4 separate regions of the Homo sapiens genome follow, and regions 1, 2 and 4 are each linked to region 3. Evidence: promoter capture Hi-C in 16 types of primary human blood cells and fetal thymus (Javierre and others, 2016). All regions are on one chromosome and are shown on one strand. Each heading gives the region's core, a stretch centred on a gene start or on the middle of the fragment in contact. The rest is flanking DNA. Distances are from core to core; before and after follow the strand shown.

Region 1 (2,828 bases), core at 237-2,736, 320 kb before region 3:
CACATTCTGGGGTACTGGGGGTTGGGATATCAAAATATGGATTTGGAGGGGACACAACTCAGCCCATAACAGGTACTGATTCCAAAAAAGACCAGAGTTTTGTAAAAGCAGTTTGTGTATCCAAAAATGGCTGGGCCCTTAAAAACAAACAAACAAAAACAAACACAATACAAAGATCAAGGATTCCCAGATTCTGAGATTCTCAGACTCCCCAGGTAGAGGTCACTGGAGGCTGTGGTCACATGCCAGCACAGCAGATGGAGCCAAGTTTCACAATTAAGAATGGGAACCATGTTTCAATATTTAACTGAGATGTTACAGGTCCTGACAAATTGGTAGGAATACCAGCCATTGAGCTACAGCAGGGTGCGGGAGGCTTCCTGCTGTGTCTAGGGCTGACCTTCAGTTGCAGGATAATGAATAAGGCCTGCTGGGTGAACGCTGGAAGAATTAGGGCAGCAGGGGTTACTTGGGGATCAAGGAAATAGTTATTTACTAACCACACAGAAATATGTCAATATTTTAGCAAATAGTCCAAGAGAGTTGAGTCTTACCAGTTCCTAGGTATACGGTTTTGTCTAATAACACCACCTCTTCGGGCTTTAGTTTTCTAGTTTGTGTGAAAGCTACATGTTTACTAGGCTCAGGTACTTGAAGTTCAAGGTATGGTCATTGCCATGTTAACAGTTTTTCCTTAAGTTTATTGACTGGCACAAAAGCCCCACCTTCCAAGGGTACCCATTTCCTTCACTTTCTTTCCTTTTCCATTCCCCTTTCTGTCACTCAGGAATTATCTAGAAGGGTAACAGAGGTCTCTCTCACATAATCAGTCAATACTTTTAGCTTGACATGATGAACTTAGCTTTTGAAAGTAACCAGTTGACACTTTGAGAATAAAAATCCAGAAAGCTTTACATGGGCCAGGGAGGATTTTCAACCTCATCCAAGAGACCGGATCTACTTACATGGAACAATTAAAATCTTTTAGTAAGCAACAAATTGTAAATTAATACTTTTGTATGTACTTGAACTGTTCTCAATTCCCTGGATTTTTTCATCTTGTGATCTGGGTATTGGATTTTCCAAATTCAAAAAGATGAAGCAAGTGACAGACAATACATGGGGCATGGTATTAAAGGCTAGCTGAATTGATTGAGCTGTGGTGAAAGTTCAGCAACCCCCAGCTTGGAAGCAGCTCACCTAGAAAATATTTTCATCATTTCAAGTTGTGTCACCCAGAAAATAATGATAGACTGTTCACCATTTCTTCCATAATCTAAAATAGCAAGAAATGGGCATAAGAAACAATTATAAAGAAGTATTCCTGAGGTACCAGAATTCCTGAGTGAAACAGCAGAATTTTGTGCTTTTACAATGTTTAAAATCAAAGCAGAGATTCTTCTCTGGAGACAGCAGGATGAAAAGATGACTTTTAAATGTTCGATCCAGTTTTGTATGATGATCATTAAAGTACTGAAGACAGTAAAAGCCAAAAATTATGTGTGAGGCTTTGTAGGCAAGGAATAGGTGTCAGTTCTTTAAAAAACAAATGAAAAAAAAGGTCTGATTTTCTTTCCTGGATTTATTGTAAAACCATTTGCAGAGGAATTTGGGGGAAACCCTGGAAGAAGAGATCATTTTATGTAGTAAATAACTCCAGCCAAAGACCAGACACGTAGCTCACCCCTGCCTGACAGAGGAATTGGGAAACCCACCAAGCAAAGAGAGGATTATGTTGTATTGGAGCTAAATCTCAGAAGAAAATATTGCTGGGAGGATCTTCATACTTTTGTTTCTAATACAGAGGATGGAAAAAGGAGGGAGATAATGACCACCAACAGTGAACAGGAAAATGTAACTAAATATGGCAGCTCCAAGAAGATAGATGGGAGGGGGAATCCCAAAGCGCTCAGACTCACTTTAGAGTTTACAGGTGATGATTCCCTTTGATTCATGGTTGCCGTTCTTAAGGGCAAAAGACTTAGTTGGCTAAAGATGGGATACAAACAGAAAGAAAGGCTACTCCAGCTGGGAAAACAAAAGATGTTTGGGATGATGTTGATGAAAGCTTTTTTAAAGTGAGAGGTACAGAGAGAGTGTAAGAGGAAAGCAGCTGGAGTTTTTCCAGGTCGGCTAATGATGCATGGAGCTGCTGACACAGCAGTTCATCCAGCCAGTGCAAGAGAGAGCTGCCTTAGGGACCTGCCCTTTCTCGTAGGGCTGGACCCTAAGAGCCCAGGGCGGGGAGGCTTCACCACTTGGTTTATAAGACTTTTTTTTTTTTTTTCCTTGAGCTCTGATTTAAATGCTCACCACTGGGACACACTTAACTGAAACTCAGCTTAATTTTCCCCTTTTTGGAATTTGTCCCCCTTAGCAGATATTTAGTTTCTAAGATCAGAAATCAGCAGGGGAGAGGACGTTCATCTGGGTTATAAAATAAAATGAAACGCCTCCACTTTTTCGTCCTCGGTTACTCAAATGCCTGGTACTTTGCTCATGAGGCTGAGAAAAATCCAAACTGGATGTAAAATGCTCACCTAGTTGGTGATCATTTACTCATCCCAGGGACTAAGGGAACTGTGGGTCTTGATAATTATGTCCGCTGAGTTGTGAGGCTGTGCCTATGTGATTGGAAATGTAAAATACGGTGCATGATGAAATGTTGCATTTTAATCTCTCTTTGTTCAGGCTGTTTCTCCAATTGAGACAAGATGACATCCAACACAAAGCCAACATATTTGATGTTCTTCAAATTTATAACTTCAAATTGCAGATCCCGTTTCACTGTCTTCCCATTATCAGTAAGTGATCTCTAACCCCTCCTT
Region 2 (2,877 bases), core at 175-2,674, 280 kb before region 3:
GGCCCCAGCGTGTGATGTTCCCCTTCCTGTGTCCAAGTGTTCTCATTGTTCAATTCCAACCTATGAGTGAGAACACGTGGTGTTTGGTTTTTTGTCCTTGTGATAGTTTGCTGAGAATGATGGTTTCCAGCTTCATCCATGTCCCTACAGAGGACATGAAATCATCATTTTTTATGGCTGCATAGTATTCCATGGTGTATATGTGCCACATTTTCTTAATCCAGTCTATCATTGTTGGACATTTGGGTTGGTTCCAAGTCTTTGCTATTGTGAGTAGTGCCGCAGTAAACATATGTGTGCATGTGTCTTTATAGCAGCATGATTTATATTCCTTTGGGTATATACCCAGTAATGGGATTGCTGGGTCAAATGGTATTTCTAGTACAAGATCCTTGAGGAATTGCAACACTGACTTCCACAATGGTTGAGCTAGTTTACAGTCCCACCAACAGTGTAAAAGTGTTCCTATTTCTCCACATCCTCTCCAGCACCTGTTGTTTCCTGACTTTGTTTCCTCACACCTTTGTTTCCTCACACCATTCTAACTGGTGTGAGATGGTATCTCACTGTGGTTTTGATTTGCATTTCTCTGACTGCCAGTGATGATGAGCATTTTTTCATGTGTCTGTTGGCTGCATGAATGTCTTCTTTTGAGAAGTGTCTGTTCACATCCTTTGCCCACTTTTTGATGGGGTTGTTTGTTTTTTCTTGTAAATTTGTTTGAGTTCTTTGTAGATTCTGGATATTAGCCCTTTGTCAGATGGATAGATTGCAAAAATTTTCTCCCATTCTGTAGGTTGCCTGTTCACCTGATGGTAGTTTCTTTTGCTGTGCAGAAGCTCTTTAGTTTAATTAGATCCCATCTGTCAATTTTGGCTTTTGTTGCCGTTGCCTTTGGTGTTTTAGACATGAAGTCCTTGCCCATGCCTATGTCCTGAATGGTATTGCCTAGGTTTTCTTCTAGGGTTTTTATGGTTTTAGGTCTAACATTTAAGTCTTTAATCCATCTTGAATTAATTTTTGTATAAGGTGTAAGGAAGGGATCCAGTTTCAGCTTTCTACATATGGCTAGCCAGTTTTCCCAGCACCATTTGTTAAATAGGGAATCCTTTCCCCATTTCTTGTTTTTGTCAGGTTTCATATGGAACCAAAAAAGAGCCTACATTGCCAAGTCAATCCTAAGCAAAAAGAACAAAGCTGGAGGCATCAGGCTGCCTGACTTCAAACTATACTACAAGGCTACAGTAACCAAAACAGCATGGTACTGGTACCAAAACAGAGATATAGACCAATGGAACAGAACAGAGCCCTCAGAAATAATACCACACATCTACAACTCTCTGATCTTTGAGCAATATCTAATTTTTAAGACCTTGTTCTTTCCATCAAATGTTTAGTACCACTCAAAGAACTCAAAGTTGCTTGAGATGCTGGTTTTGAAATTTGAGGTAGTCTCAGAGCTCAGTCCTATGTGGGTTTTCTGTTTCTCACTTTCTTTCCTTTTCTTTTCTCTTTGATTTATAGCATTTTCCAGCTTCCATGGTGTAAATACTTACATTATTGCTTATTTCCATCTACCAACATGATGTCTACCACCTTGTGAAATTCCTGAAAGTTTAATTATCAGCTTTAATGCTATCTTAAGTGCTTTTTAGATAACACACTTAAAACTCCTGTCAACATCCTTGTAAGGAATATTCCATTTATTAGCAATGTTTTACAGATGAGAAAACTGAGGTATAAAAAGTAACTTGCTCAAAATCAAATGGGTACCAAGTGGCAGATAAGGACTTGGGCATGGGTGTAGCTTTCCCCTGCTCTTTTCTGCTATGCTATACTGCCAGCCTCAGACATGGGGGTGACCTTTCAGCTTCATTCTGTCTCTAAAAAAGAAGACAAAACTTCAGCCATTGATTCCAAAGTTCCCTACCTGGTTTTCTAGCCTCCCATCTCTCCATTCCATCTTAAAGGCTACTGACAAAACTCTTTCTAAAGAAAAGAGCTGAACATATAAATCCCCTGCTCAAATGTCTTCAGTTTGCTACTACATATGGGATAAAACACAAATTCCTCATCTGCGTACTCATGTCCTCTGTGATCAACTCTAAATGCCCCTTTTTTAAAATCTTTGTTATGGCTCCCCCTGAAAGTTTCATCTGTTTCAAATATACCAAATTAATTGTGATTTCTAACAAGCCATGTGCTCTGTTGCGTTCACTGAATGCTCATCTCTCCACTAAATTCCTACTATCTTTGAAGGTCCTGTGCAAATGCCACTTTCTCTCTTACAGAGAGAAAGATGGTAGGATCTTTGTAAGGTCCTCCCACATGCCCCCAGTGGGAATAATTTTTTTCTGCTTCCCAACTGTCCCACTACATGTGGCATGTCACACCTCTATTATAGCACTTACAACAATATGTTTTTATTATAGTTATATTCTACAGAGTGGGAAATATGTCTGTCTACCCTACAGTAGAATGAGTCTTTGAGAGCGGGGGCATGATCCATTCCTCTTTATATCTTTCCCACAGATCCTAGGAGAGTGTCTTGCTAATAGCAAGAGCTGAATAAATATGTGAATTTCATTGCTACATGGGATCAATGAAAATCTAAGTTTGGTGTAAACTGAGTATCCATTCTCATCTTTTCCAGATCATGGTGTACTATCCACCCTAGGTCATTCCCTGAGGACAGTAGTGTCGGCTTCCTCAGTCAACTAGGGAAGCAGCTTGGGGAAGCAACTAAGACAGTCAACTAAGGAAGCAACAAAACACCTGTACTGTGGCCAAAATGGGGCACATTTGTAGAAGATCAGCAGCTGGCCAGGGGAAGTCCCATTTTAGTTCTGAGTCTTGGTCCTCTCCTCTTCCAATGAC
Region 3 (2,700 bases), core at 76-2,575:
AGCCCTCAGGAATAGCGTAGAGAGAGGAACGTCGCCTGGCTGAGAAAGGTGGATGGGCATACCCATGTACCTTTGTGTATTAAGTACCCACAACCTCCGAACTTAGCCGTCCCTGTCCCGGCCCGCCCAACTGCTGCCGCCGCATCTGCAGAAACCACTCGTGTTGAGGCCTCGGAGCAGCCGGGAGCACCACGCTGGAGCAAAAAAGCCGGAGGGCGCAGGGCTCCAGCCCGGCTGACCATCCCACCCAGCGCAGGGACCAACGGAAAACCCGCGCGGCGCCAGGACCAGGGGGCTGCCCGACGCCGCTCGCGGACTAGTTCCTCAGACTGTGGGACTCCCTAGTGCCGGCTTTGCCCAGGGCTTTCCAAGGCTGTCTCATGCCCTAGATCTGCCCCAGCAGCTCAGGCCTTGGACTGCGAACCCAGTATCCCGAGACACCGATTCCATCAGTCCCCATCCCGACCCCTCTCCAGCCGGGTTCATCCGCCTGCTGCCTCCCGTCCTCCACGTTTCCCCCACCAGCCACCAACAAGCGGCAACCACGCTGCCTTCTGCAAAAGAGGAAGAAGGAAAGAAGGGAGAGAGAAAGAAAGGGGGGGAAAGGAAGGGAGGTTTAGAGACTGGAATAGAATCCGCAGCCACATTCAGAAACTTACTCGAGCTTGAGAAAAACAATTTAAGAAAAGTAAAAAGGAAGTGTCCAGAGCAGGAAGGGAATTCACAAATGTAGCCTCCAGCGGGAACAGCTCCCTGGCTGCCGAGCTCCAGCGGGAGGGGAGTCGAGCGTTTTCTTTGCCACTTACCTAGTCCCCTGTCTACAAAGCTGGTGATCGTATTAGCCGACTTGGAAGACTGGAAAAAGCTGGCATTGATGCCCAGCTTCTCAGCGATGGAGTAAGTCCTGTAGATTGACAGCATGTACTCGTGGGGCACCACGCGCGGACCCCTGCCTGGCGGCTCCTGCGCCCGGGGCTGCTGAGCCCGGGGTTCGTCCTGAGGCCGCGGCTGTGGTTCCTGGCCCTCCCGGCCCGCGTCACTGTCGCGCGGCGCCCGCTGCATCTTGCCTTCCTTGCGGCTTCGCATGCCCTTGGTGGAACCCAGCTCGGCGGACGACGAGGAGGATGAGATGGAAGCCTGCTGGAAACCGGGCAAATCCCACAGAAAACTGATGAGGAAGACGGCCGAGAGCAGGACCCTGGGAGTATCCATGGCGGGCAAGTGGCTGCGTCTCCCCAGGAGGCGGTGGCGGCGGCGCAGGACGCGCGGGGCACGGAGCGGCTGGACAGCGGCCGGGGCCCGGCTCCTCGGGCGGACTCGGAGTGCGAGGAGCCGGGTCCCAGCCACACAAACCCCGGCCCCGCCACGCCCCCTCCCGCCCCTCGCCGGGAGGGGAGGAATGGGGAGGGAGGGCAGAGGAGGGGTGGGGAGGGTGGGAGGAGAGCCGGGTGGTGCGGGCCGGAGGTGTGGGGGAGAGGGGCCGCGGTGCGCCGGTGTGGCAGGAAGACGCAGCGCCCCCGCGGGACGCGCGCGGGGTTGCCGGGCGGTGCGCGCGGCGCGGGCCGCAAGCGCTGACCGGGGGAAGGCGGGCGCTGCCGGCCCGTGGCCGGGGAGCAAAGGCTGGCCCGCCGCGCCAGGGTCCCCCTCGAACTCCCGGAGGTGTGGTCCCTCCGCAGCGCGGCCCCGGCTCTCGGTCCTCGCCAGCCGCCTCCACTTTCCTGGGAGCGAGCGGCCCCGGAGGAGGGAAGCGGCGGCGGCGCCCCCAAGAGACAGCTTGGAGCAGGCGCCTCTGCTGCAGGCTGCGTGCTGCCTCGGGGCGGTGGTACCCTCCCTCCTCGGCCCCAACCGCCAGGCCTGCCGTTTGCGCCCCTCAGGGGCCAGCCCGGAGCCAGAGAAGCCTCGCCCTGGGCCAGGCGCAGGGCCCAGCTCGGAACAGCCCCATTTTCTCGGTTGGGTATCGCTCTCCACAAAGACAGGCGTCTATTCCCGACCCTCGAGGTCAGGCAAAGGCCACGAGTCTTTAGAGTTTGGATCGATGCTAAAAGCTGCTGCGCTCCCCTGCAGGCCCCAGCCTCTCCTCTCGCAGTCCCCAACCTCTTCTGACGCAGACTTTAGCTGCTCCACTTCTTCGTCTGCTCCCGGGATCCTCTCCCTCTCGCGGCCTGCCCCCCGCCTCCACTGCATCCCCATTTTCCCTCTCTTCTTTCCCTCCCGCCTGCAGGACTTCCTCCTTCCCCAAGTTCCTTCTGCATTCCAATCCCTCTTCCCCAGCCTGCTTTTCTTCTCACACTGCCCTCCCATCTCACACTGCCTTCCCACCCTCTCTCTTCCCGGCCTCCCCCCTCGCCTTCCAGTGGACCCCTCCCTTTGCAGCTCTACCCCAATCTGTTTCTCTTCAGCCCAGCCTCGCCCCATCACGAGTTTCCTTTATCTGTCCCCAGATTCCCCGTGCCTGTCTTCCCCGCCCACTGCCTCGCTCATTCCTGGGCCTGCACGCTGAAAGGCGATGCGGCGTAGCGCTGCTTCTGTCTGCCACAGTGCTCTGCCCTGGACTGCTATGGGCAGAAGAGTTTCCCTCAGTACTGATTGGGTGCTCAGGCACCAACCATAAAGTACCCTCCTTTAATCGTGCCAACAGCTTTGTGAGGTTGGCGTTGACTATTTTCACCTTCACGGATGGAAAAAAAAAAGACTCAATGG
Region 4 (2,810 bases), core at 203-2,702, 260 kb before region 3:
AACTCACAATGTCAGTATCCAATCAAAAATTAACAGACATGCAAAGAAGAAAAGGGAAACTACAATTCAGGGACAATCCAATCATTATAAACAGGCCTAGACATGACAGAGAGGATAGATTAGCACACAGGATCTTTAAAAACTATTATAAATATTAAAAACATTCTTGCCGGGCATGGATTACAATCCCAGCACCTTGGGAGGCCACAGTGGGCAGATCTGGAGGTCAGGAGTTTGAGACCAGCCTGGCCAACACGGTGAAACCCTGTCTCTACTAAAAATACAAAAATTAGCAGGGTGTGGTGGTGGGCGCCTGTAATCCCAGCTACTTGGGAGGCTGAGGCAGGAGAACTGCTTGAACCCAGGAGGTTGAGGTTGCAGTGAGGTGAGATTGCGCCACTTGCACTCCAGCCTGGGCAACAGAGCAAGACTCCGTCAAAAAAAAAAAAAAAAAAAAAAAACCATTATCGAGAATGTGAATGGAAGTATTAACATTATTGGGAGAGACATAGAAGACATTTACAAATAACAAAATGGAACATGTAGAAATTAAAAGTGCCTGAATTAAAATACACTGGATGAGATTAATATCTGTCTAATATCTTAAGACACTGAAGAAGAAAAGATCAATAAACTTGATCAAATAGCAACAGAACCTATACAAATGACACACAGAGAGAAAGAAAAAAGTTGTAGGAGTCTCCATGATATCTATTACAATAGCAAGTGGTCTAATATAGGTATAATGGGATTCTTCAAAGAGGAGAAAAAGATTTTAAAAATTTGAAAAAATCTGAAAAAACAGTTAAAACTGGTCTAAATTTTATAAAAACTATAAACCTATAGGATCAAAAAGATCAATAAATATCACATAAAATAAACATAACAGAAATGAAACTAAGGCACATAGTAAGATTGCTCAAAATCAATGATAAAGAGAAATTTTAAAGACAGCCAGAGGGGGAAAGAGACACGTTAGGTACACGAAACAAAAACATGAATGACATTGTACTTCTCATTATAATTTTGCACACCAAAGGAGCAGGAAGTGACATCTATAAGGCATTAAAAAAAAAAACACTCACTAGAATTCTGTACCAAATGAAAATATCTTTCAAAATTGAGGGTGACACAAATATTTTTTTCAGATATCAGACCCTCAATATAAGAGATGTTAAAGGAAGCTTTTCAGGCAGAAGGACAAGGACACCAGATGGAAATTTGTATCTACACAAAGGAATGAAGAGGTCCATAAGTGGTAAATATAGAAATAATATTGCACTTGTTTCCTATTGCTGCTATAACAAATTGCCATAAATTTGACTTACAATAACATAAACTTATTATCTTACAGTTCTGGAGGTCAGAAGTCTGAAGTGAGTCTCAGCTAAAATTAAGGTGTTGACAGAGCTGCATTCTTTTCTGGAGGTCCTAGAAAAGAAATGGTTTTCTTGCATCTTCCAGCTTCCTTGTTCATGTCTTTTTCTATCTTCAATGGCTGATCAAGCCCTTCTCGTGACGTCTTCTCTCTGGTTCTGACGTTTCTGCCCCTCATCATCCCCATTTAAAGGTCTTGTGATTTATATTGGGCTCACCTGAGTTATCTAGGCTACTCTCCCTATTTTGAGGTTAGCTGGTTACCAACCTTAATTCAGTCTTCAAACTTAATTGATTCTTGCCTTGTAATGCAACAATCACAGGTTCTGGGGATTAGGATTTGGAAAGCTTTGGGGGTCACTATTCTACTTCCCATAAATATAAATTTCAAACTTCCCAGTTTTAATCCTTTTAAAAGACAATTCTCTGCTTAAATAAAAAATAATAACAAAATATTGCAGGAAACGCAAACAAAAAGTAACTTCATCTACTTGCAGAATTATTTAAATAAAACAAAAAAGGGAACTTTATAATGGTAAGGAGTACATTTCACAATGAAGATAACAGAGATATGAATATCTTTGCACCCAAAGCCATTCCTGAATACAAAAACAAGACTAGAACTCTTATAACAAATCTAGAAATTTAATAATAAAACAAGAAGGTAAAAGGCAATTCTTCTAAAAGTTAAAAACAAAAAGTTTTAAAACAAAACAATATCATCACTAACAAAAAACTTCTCTTTTAAATCTTGTGTCAAAAAAAGAAAAAAAAAGAAAAAAGAAAGAAATCTGAAGGAGATTCTTGGAAGATGACAACAATGTCATCACAGATTTTTGAAAAATCTTTCCAAATCCCCACATTTAAAACAGAAGCAACTAGATAGAAAAAGCAAATTCCACAGACACTATTTATATTAAAAACTGAATGATGAGATGGTCTGTGAACTCCCAAATGCAACCAGGTGAGAGCAAAGCACCAGGAGGCCCACCTGAGAACAGCAGCTGAAATGGAGAATGTTTTTCCTAGTTCAATCGTAGACCAATGCAAGGGGCTCACAGGGAGATTTAAAGGAGTTGGATCAGTCTAAACTCCACATGCTCTCAAAACTGACTTTCCAGGGCTCCCTTCCAGGACAGAATTTTACACTGAGGAAAACCTGTTGGAAGGAGAATCAAAATTGAGCAGAAAAGGGTCACTAGAGATGAAGGCAAGAGAAGATTCAAATAACAATGGGAGAGAAGAATAGTGCCAAGAAATCTCAGAAAGTGAGCCATCATATTTTTTAACACAACACCCACCCCCCTAAAATGAATGAATGAATGAATGAATGAAAAATAAAGAAAAGAAGAGAAGAAAAAAGACAAAAAAGAAAAAGCAATAAGCAAAAAACAGAAGGAGCTCTGTGAAATTTAAAAAGCTAGCCTGAATCA

Evidence for each region. Contacts are between HindIII fragments. The CHiCAGO score rates a contact against its expected background, and 5 or more counts as called.
Region 1: a fragment that was not itself captured here is called in contact with the fragment with the promoter of GDF6 in region 3 in 1 of 17 cell types (M2 macrophages); the score reaches 5.5 in M2 macrophages.
Region 2: a fragment that was not itself captured here is called in contact with the fragment with the promoter of GDF6 in region 3 in 13 of 17 cell types (M1 macrophages, M2 macrophages, fetal thymus and 10 more); the score reaches 10.0 in M1 macrophages.
Region 4: a fragment that was not itself captured here is called in contact with the fragment with the promoter of GDF6 in region 3 in 1 of 17 cell types (M1 macrophages); the score reaches 6.2 in M1 macrophages.

What each region holds. Positions count from the first base shown.
Region 1 is chr8:95,844,277-95,847,104 of GRCh38, forward strand. No RefSeq gene overlaps it. Among named protein-coding and RNA genes, the nearest start is that of GDF6, 320 kb to the right of the region's middle. The HindIII fragment of the contact is 1,159 bases long and covers 908-2,066 here.
Region 2 is chr8:95,882,107-95,884,983 of GRCh38, forward strand. No RefSeq gene overlaps it. Among named protein-coding and RNA genes, the nearest start is that of GDF6, 280 kb to the right of the region's middle. The HindIII fragment of the contact is 5,770 bases long and covers 1-2,877 here.
Region 3 is chr8:96,159,481-96,162,180 of GRCh38, forward strand. GDF6 (growth differentiation factor 6) reads right to left here and starts at 1,326. Exons shown (of 2, transcript NM_001001557.4): 1 at 807-1,326. The coding sequence starts at 1,212. The HindIII fragment of the contact is 9,891 bases long and covers 1-2,700 here.
Region 4 is chr8:95,899,136-95,901,945 of GRCh38, forward strand. No RefSeq gene overlaps it. Among named protein-coding and RNA genes, the nearest start is that of GDF6, 260 kb to the right of the region's middle. The HindIII fragment of the contact is 541 bases long and covers 1,183-1,723 here.